2 separate regions of the Homo sapiens genome follow, and region 1 is linked to region 2. The links are contacts of gene promoters, found by promoter capture Hi-C in blood cells and fetal thymus (Javierre and others, 2016). All regions are on one chromosome and are shown on one strand. Each heading gives the region's core, a stretch centred on a gene start or on the middle of the fragment in contact. The rest is flanking DNA. Distances are from core to core; before and after follow the strand shown. Region 1 overlaps ARMC9 (armadillo repeat containing 9). Region 2 holds the start of B3GNT7 (UDP-GlcNAc:betaGal beta-1,3-N-acetylglucosaminyltransferase 7).

Region 1 (4,085 bases), core at 1-2,500, 170 kb after region 2:
TAGATGATTTACCTTTGTTACTTTGTCCATTCTCCTTCTGGGATGAAAAAGAAGTTCAGGAAAACAGGCATTCAGGGAACGGTACTTGGGGTATCGGACATCCTGTGGCCAATGTGAGAAAGCACCTCAGCATGATGAAACAGAATTCTCGGAGCCGGGAGGGCCAGCTCCAACTGTTGCTGTAAATAGCTAAGCAACTTCTCCATACTGGCCTGACCCACTCCCATTTCAGAAGAAGGCAAGTCCTCTTCTCCCCATTTCAATTATCACTGTCTGAATTCAAGTCTTGCACTATTTCAACAGCCTCCTATCCCCTTCCTATCCCCTTCCAAAGGCCTTCCCCACTGCTACCAAGCCAACTAAAAATGCAAATCTGATTTTATACATAATTCAACTCTAACTTCAATTCAAAGCTTTATCCTAAGGAAATTGATATTGAGGTGAAAACAGCATAGCACAGTATTGCTAAGACCACAGACTCTGGAGCCAGACTGCCTGGGTTCAAATCTCAGTTCCCACACGTCTGGCTGCATGACTGAAGACAGTTACTTAACATGTTTCTTTTCCCTTAATTTGTCTTAAACTTTTCCTTAGTATTTTGGTAATAGCTTTATTCACGTACTGTATAATTCACCTATTTAAAGTGTACCTTTCAGGCCAGTGTGGTGGCTCACGCCTGTAATCCCAGCAATTTGGGAGGCTGAGGCGGGTGGATTACCTGAGATCAGGAGTTTGAGACCAGCCTGGCCAACATGGCAAAACCCTGTCTCTGCTAAAAATGCAAAAATCAGCCAGGTTTGGTAGTGGGTGCCTGTAATCCCAGTTACTTGGGAGGCTGAGGCAGGAGAATCGCTTGAACCTGGGAGGCGGAGGTTGCAGTGAGCCAAGATCACGCCATTTCACTCCAGCATGGGTGACAAGAGCAAAATTCTGACTCAATCAATCAATCAATCATCAATCAATGTGTACATTTCAATGGTTTTCAGTATTTTCAGAGTTATGCAACCATCACTACAATCAATTTTAGAACATTTTCATCATCCTCCAAAAGAAACCCTGTATTCACTGGCAGTTACTCCCATTTTCCCTGCTCTCCCCAGCCCCTGGCAACCACTAATATACTTTCTGTCTCTCCAGATTTGCCTCTTTTGGACATTTTATGAATAGAGTCATATAATACCTGGTCCCTGCCACTGGCTTCTTTCAGTTAGCATAATGCTTTCAAGGATCATTCATGTTACAGCATGAATCAGTGCTTCATTCCTTTTTATGGCTGGATGATATCAAACGATATTCCATCATTTGGATAACACCACAGTTTGTTTATCCATTCATAAGATGATAGACATTTGAGTTGTTTGCATTTTTTTGGCTATTATGAATAATGTTACTATGAACATTTGTGTACAGGTTGTTTTGTGGACATATGTATGTTTCATTTCTCTTGGGTATATAGCTAGGGTATATAGCTCTTGGGTGTACAGCCTGGACCAATTCCTGGGTCATGTGGTAACTCTACGTTTAAACCTCTGAGGGAACTTAACCTGCTTTTGAAGGCTATTTAATGATATGGGAAGATGTTCTCTTCCTTTGATAAAAATGCATAGAAATATACACACACATACATGTACCTACCTTTATTACAATTTGGGTGTATGTCTGTATTAAAAACCTTTCTGTACTTTCCAAATTTTCTATAAGGAATATAGTTGATTTTATAATCAGGAAGTAAAAAGTTATTTTTTGCAAATACAACTGTTATTCTCTTACTTAAAATGCTTCAAAGGCTCCTTATTCCTTATAGGACTTGGCATAAACCTTTATGACCTAGGCCCTGCCTAGTCTCTGAGTTTGTCTATGCCAATACTCTGCTCCAGTAATATTAAATTATTTCAGTTTCCCAGGCACTGTCTCAGTGCCTTTGCACAGGCTGTTCCCTCTACCTGTAATTCCCATCCCTCCTCTGTTTGCCTCACAGACTCCTATTTTATTGTTCAAAGCTCCAGTTTGGCTAAGAGAATTACATCTTGGCCTTTTCTTTATATCCCTAAATCCTAGAACAATATTTGACTCATAGTAGAAGCTTAATGTATTGAACTGAACTACAAGTATTTTCATGTAACAAGGAAAATATTAGAATGTTATTTATAGTTACCTGCTATATTTCAGCATATGCTTCAAAGCATGTGGAACAGGATGAAAGGTGACAAGTACTTAAAAATTCTAATGCCAACAGCTAACAGTTATCAAGCACTTACTATATACTGGACTGTTTCATACAAGTTATATGTATTAACTCAATCTTCATACTCTTCCTATAAAATAGGTACTATGATCTTTTTTTATTCTTATTTTTTTGAGACAGGGTCTCACTATGTTGCCCAGGCTGAAGTTCAATGGCAGAATACACAGCTCAATGCAGCCTCAACTTCCTGGGCTCAGGTGATTCGCCCACCTGTCTCCCCCAGATAGCTGGGACTATAGTCATATGGATGCTACCATGCTCAGCTAACTTTTTGTACTTTTTGCAGAGATGGGGTTTCGCCATGTTGCCCACTCTGGGCTCAAACTCCTGGGCTCAAGTGATCCTCCCGCCTTAGCCTCCCAAAGTGCTGGGATTACAGGCGTGAGCCACGGGGCCCAGTCAGGTACTGTTTTGAGTATACTAATATATTTTTAATATAACTAATATAATTTACCATGTAAATCATTTTGATTAGATTCTTAACATATTGGCACCCATAATTATTAAGCTGAGCTACTCTGGGCACACTGCCTATGGGGTAGCCCTGTTCCACAAGGAGCAGTATCAAGAAAAAAAAAAATTAAGCTGAGAAATGCTTTTTTAAAGCGTATTCAAATAATTATAAGTCAAGTTGGAAAAGTTCTAGTTTCACTGAAAATCACTGTATATGGAACTCTAGGAAGGAAAAGGTTTGGATATGCAAACATCGTGGTATGTAGGCAAACAGAAGAATTTAAACAAAAGCCTTAAGGATATAAAGGCAGAGACGAGAGCTGTAGATCAGTCCGTTCGGCTCAGGCCAGGCTAAGGAATTTGAATACAGGCAACAGGGAAGGCTTAGGAAGCTCAAGTAGAAATGTGGCATGGAGTCCTAGTGACAAATAAAACCTCAATTAGGTCAAGAAAGTCAAATGCTTTGGAGTTAGAAAGGAAGCAGAAGGTATTACGCAGCAAAGTAGCCTAAATTTTTCATGAAATTAAACTAAACAGTGACCAATTTTACCATTCAAAACATTATGTTCTTGTTATGAAATAACTTTGGATACATTTTTATTCCAAGTAAAAGGAGATACTTGTCTTTAAAAACTAATAACCTTTGGGAAATTAGTCTTCCATGGGTTGGGTGACCTAACGTTCTGCTCTTTCTGAAACAGGCTCTATTTACACCTGTCACCCTGGTACTTTGTCCAGTTAGTGCCCCTTTTTACTTTCAAAAGTGTCCCAGTTTGAACTGGACTGTGGTGATACTGCACAGCTCTGTACGTTTGCCAAAAAGCATTAAATTGTACACTTACCATGGGTAGATTTTATGGTATGTAAATTTACACCTCAATAAAGTTATTTAAAAAGAAGTCCCAATTTGAATGACAAGTTAGATGGTCACCCGATCCATATGCCATGGCCTGAAGGGCTTAAAAGTGGTTAAGTGACATTCTGCAAAGGGACAATTATCCCAAGGAATTCTTTTACAAGAAGGTAAACTTTCTTTTCTACCAAGACAACTTCTAGCCACGTGACATCAAAATAAGACCTTGCCAAAAAGAAAGTCTCAGAGATCCAATGATATAGAAGTTGATCTCTATAGGCCCTGCCATTAATGATTCATTGACCTTGTAAATATGAAAGCAACACTATTAATTATCCCGATTTAATGAGGCAACCTCAATAAACCTAAGCCAGCGTGCAACTCTAAATAAAATCTGCTCTAAAACCATAGGTGGTCTCTATTTGCTTCAAAAGGATACATATATTGTTAAAAGCTTTGGCGTGTTGCTGGCTTTAGATATTAAAGCTAGAAACTTTATCAACTTCAACTTTAACTCTGGAGTCCAGGAATCCT
Region 2 (4,479 bases), core at 440-2,939:
AGGCAGCGGGTGCACAGTTAGGGGAATGCTGTCACCTTAACAGGAGGGCCTCAGGTGGAAACCTCTGCCCTGTTCCCCACGCCTGGAACCCCAATGCCTTTCATTTCCCTGCGGTGTACCTACCCACAGCAGTAGGTATCGGTATCATTAGGTGACTCAGAGCCAGAGTCATTGAGAGGGCACCCTCTGATCCTCTGTGCCGCCCGGGAGCTCCATCACATGTGGGGCACATTGGAGAGTGGCTCGAGCTTGGGACCTGAGGAAGACTGGCCCTCCTCCCCCTTCTCCAGTCTGTCTCACCCAACAAAGAGCAGCCCTCATGGTTGATGGAGGCCCAAGGATGCAGTGAGCACCTCTAGCATGGCACTGCCCCTCACCCCTACCTTAACATCCCCAGCTCATAACACCCCATTAGAAGACATGAGGCTACAGCTCTACTCCCTGGGAGGGGGCACATTTGCAGCTCCAGCCCTTGAGGGACCCTTCTTGCCCAGAGACCCCCCCACCCCAACCCCGGTCCACACCCATTTCGGAAGCAGAAATTAGAGCTCTCTGCCAGGAGTGCTGGTCGTCCCAAGCCCTGGGGCCTGAGCCCCTGTCCTGAAGGACCTCCTCTCTTCATCTCACCCTCCGGGGGCTGCCAGGACACCTGCCCCACCCTCCCCAGTGGAGACCTGGGGGCTGAGAGCTCTGGGGACAGCAGAGTGGCCTTCCAGGGCCAGCCTAGCAGAGAGATGGCGCTGACCTCCAAGGGGGAGGAGCAGGGTGCCAGGAGAGACAGGCAGCCCGTGGAGACGCCTGGGTTGCCCTGAGGGCTGGTCCGGTTGCAGGTCCAGGCCCCAGGGTGAATGCAGGCTGAGCCCCATAGAGCGACATTTTCCCCATAGGGTCCCCAGGTTGCTGGGGCATGTGGTTGGAGGAAGACAGGGGCACCTTAGGTGCAGGCTGGGGGGTGTGACCCAAGGTCCAGCTCTCCGGGGAGGAAACGGAGGGCTCCGGATCCGGCCCTGCCAGCCCTAGGGGTTCCAGGGAAGCCGCCCACCGAGGCCGGGACGGGGGAGGTCGGGGGGTGCACCGGGAAGGCGGCGAGGCCCTGGGCTGCGGGCGCTCCACCTGCCGGGTCCGCTCCATTCGTAGGGAAAGCCCGGGAGGGGCGGAGAGGGGCCGGGCGGGCGGCGGTCCGAGGTCCCGCGGAAGGAAGCCCCGAGAGGAGGAGAGTGGCCCGGACGCAGGGGGCCCTCAGGGGTCTGGAAGGGAGAGGGGACCCAGCTGCCGGCAAGACCTGGGGTCCCAGCCGCCAGGGTCCTGGAGCGGTGTCCAGGGCCGCGGGGCCGGGGAGCTGAGCGCGGCGCCCCGAGACCCCTCGACGTCCCCCACGGGTCCGGGGCCGCGTACCGCGAACATCTCCCGCCGCCGCCGCCGCGCCCGCCCGCCCATCCGCCCCCGGGAAACTGAGGCCGGCGCGGCGCGCGCGGGGGCATCTCCTATCCCGGGAGTCCCGGCGCCCGTCTGTGGCCACGGAGGAGGGGGAGCCCCGGGCCCACGCCCCCGCCCAGGCCCCCGACGGCCCCCAGCCCCACTCACCACAGCGACATGGCGGCCCGGGCCGGAGCGGCGGAGGGGCGAGCGGCTCGCAGCTCTGGGCGCCACGGCTCGGGCCGGCGGGACGGCGGGCGGGTGGGGACGGAGACCGGGCCGCGCCCCCGCCGCGACTTTCCTCTTCCCGGCCGCGGGAGGAGGGGCCGGCAGGGGCGGTGGCCCAGGTGCCTTAACCCCTTCGGCGCCCAGGGCCCGCCCCGCCGCCGCCTGGCGGGGACCACCCCATTTCTCCGAGACGGCCCCTAGGCTCCCCAAGCGCGCCTAGTAGACAGTGCATGGCCGAGGCGGGGCTTCGGAACCCACGGGGGTCACCTCCAATCCCGGGGACGCCTGTCCCTGGCGGAGCCTCCCGGGGCGGGGGGAGGGCGGTCGCCGGTCCCTCCTGTACTTGTGCGAAACCTGAACACCCGGTCCCCTCCAAGACCCTGGGGCACCCCAAGGCCCAGCCATTTCCCTCTGGCCCCATTCGGACTTGTCTTTGGGGCCAGAGGCAGACAGGGTGTCCTTTTCTCCCTCTGCTACCTTCTGCCCCTGCACCTTTCCCCTGACCAGACGGACCCCTTGCCCAGCTGTTGGGCTACCTAGGGCCAGGAGCAAAGCCAGCCACTAGGGAAAGAGGCCGTATGAGACTGGGCTCCATGTCAGGACTCGCCCAGGCCTGTGGCTCTGGAAGCTTTTTTTGTGCCCCCACCATGTCCCTCTCTTCACCTCTGGGGTTCCTCCCACCTCTGAGGGCTCCCCACCACCAAGGGAAGGCCTGTTGGCCCAGCCCTATCTCCTTTCTTTTTTCACTTATCACTCAAAACCCTTTTTGTCCTCAAGCCTTTATTAGTCTGCTTGTGCACATCAGGCCTAGCGGCTCTGGGGAGTGGGCTGACAGAGAACACGGAGAGGGCTTGGTCCAGCCAGGTGACTTCCAGAATCCTCCAGCAGGGAGAGCCATCGCTGGTCCTGTTGTTGCTCAGGTTGTTCTGGTCTTGTTCCGGGTTGAGGTTTCGGTGCTTAGCATCCAGCAGGACCTCCAAAAGGCCCACAGAATTGAAACGGAAGCACGTTGTGGTCCAATCATAACAGCTAACGTCCACTGAGCAGCTACAATATGCCAAACCTGGTTCTCGGCCCATGCATGACTGGCTCACTTAATCCTAGAGACATACGCTATTATTCCCACCTTACAGGGGAGGAAACGGGGGTGCAGAGGGGAACTCCCAGCCAGCTCAGAGAACAGCGAGCCCAGAGTTAGTAAGCACATCCAGGAGGCCTGCATGGCCTGAAGGCTGGCTCTGAACCCTTCCTGCCTGGTCTGAAGGCTGGCTCTGAGCCCTTCCTCAACCTTTTTTCCTTTCCCAGGGACAGCAGTGACATGGAGCTACTTTCCTGCCCAGCACACAGGGAGGCTAGGAGTCCTCAGCTGGATCTTAAGCCCTCGAGGCCAGGGTGAGGAGCCCCTTCTGCCCTATCCTTAAGGTTCAAGGGCCCTTTGGAGGGGGAGGAGAAACTTAAGGTACCATAGAATGTTCTGGAATGTTGTAAGTGCCAATTAGGGAATGTGAAGGGCCTTTCAGGCAGAATTTCAGAGGAGTATCTTGGGGCTGATGTCCTTTGTAATGGCCCTCCAAAAGTTCCAGAGCAGGGGAGGGGCTGACCTGCAGCCCAAAGCCCCTGTTGGCCTGGCTGCCTGCCACTGAGGGCCACCCGCAGATTCTGCAGCTCCACGGCTCCCTTCATCCCAGTGTAGCCTTGGCCACCGGTTCCCGCAGGGCACCAAGCATTTTGCTCCACTGCCCAGCCTTCCGAGTTCCCCACTTCACCCTGCAAGTGTGGCCCTGGCTTCCCTGGCTCCACACAGGTGCCCTGCTGAGAGCTGCCTCCCTGGCTTCAGCACTGACCTCTCACCCGGTGCTGTGGGGTCTCCTCCTCCTGCTGAGGGGTGGACACAGCCGTCCCTGGGAAGGGGGTTTTGAGCCCATGTTTGGGGATGGCAGGCATGGGCGTTGGGTCAGAGTCTTGCACTTCCTGGTTGTCACTGGGGGCAGGTGGCTTTTCCCCTTGAGACCTCAATTTCCTGCCAGCTCAGGGCCTTGTGAGATGACGCCAATGAAGCACAGACATAGGCATCCCCTATGTAAAGAACTTGGTGGCAGGCCGGCTACTGTTAGTGTTATCATTGATGTCCAGCTACTCCACAAAGCCCCAGAAGCACAAGGGCCAGAGGAGGTGGGAGCAGAGGGAGCTGCCCAAGGTCAGCGGAGTGTTTGCCAGTGGAATCTGGTCAGTTGAGACAGGCAGTTTGTCATCATGGAATCATTTGATCTGTGCCTAGTTTGAATTCAGAGAGGGGAAATGAATGACAATTAAATGCGAGTCCCTGATGGTGGGGTGGGGGTGGGGAGTGTGGAGCCGGGCCAGGCTCGGGTCAGCCTCCCCTGTTACTCCAATGTGCTCCCCTGTGGGGCAGCTGGGCCAGTCCCTATGGCAAGCACAGTGGTCCCCCCACCGCCAATCTGGCCAGTTCCACCTGCCCCAGCCAGAGGGCAGAGCCCCAGCAGATTCCTGTGGATTTAAGCGAGGCCCTGAGGAAGGCAGGCCTGTCTGCGATGGGATCTGCCTACCTGCTGTCCCCAACCCTGGCTGAAGGCAGAGCCCAGAGGTAGAGGGAAGTTCCAGAGTGGCAGATACCAGGAGAAGAGGGTGGGTGACGGATGAGCTGGCTGCATAGGCTGCAGGAGTCCCAAGCCAAGGTGGAGGTGGGTTCTGTGTCCTTGTCACAAGGCCACTCTGTGCACCTCAGGTTGCTCCCTTGGAGGGGGAAGCTCGTGAGCCAGGACGTTGGAGGACCCCAAGAAATGCCCCCTTCCCCAGTACATCTTTTGGCCCCTC

The links. Contacts are between HindIII fragments. The CHiCAGO score rates a contact against its expected background, and 5 or more counts as called.
Region 1: a fragment that was not itself captured here is called in contact with the fragment with the promoter of B3GNT7 in region 2 in 2 of 17 cell types (erythroblasts and M2 macrophages); the score reaches 5.9 in erythroblasts.

The regions. Positions count from the first base shown.
Region 1 is chr2:231,222,726-231,226,810 of GRCh38, reverse strand. It overlaps ARMC9 (armadillo repeat containing 9), which reads right to left. Exons shown (of 25, transcript NM_001352754.2): 6 at 3,991-4,083; 7 at 13-37. Among named protein-coding and RNA genes, the nearest start is that of ARMC9, 26 kb to the right of the region's middle. RefSeq lists an enhancer at 4,072-4,085. The HindIII fragment of the contact is 1,670 bases long and covers 416-2,085 here.
Region 2 is chr2:231,392,920-231,397,398 of GRCh38, reverse strand. B3GNT7 (UDP-GlcNAc:betaGal beta-1,3-N-acetylglucosaminyltransferase 7) reads right to left here and starts at 1,689. Exons shown (of 2, transcript NM_145236.3): 1 at 1,585-1,689. The coding sequence starts at 1,595. RefSeq lists enhancers at 78-147, 1-289, 2,558-2,607, 2,903-3,484, 3,485-4,067 and a silencer at 1,538-2,007. The HindIII fragment of the contact is 8,411 bases long and covers 1-2,274 here.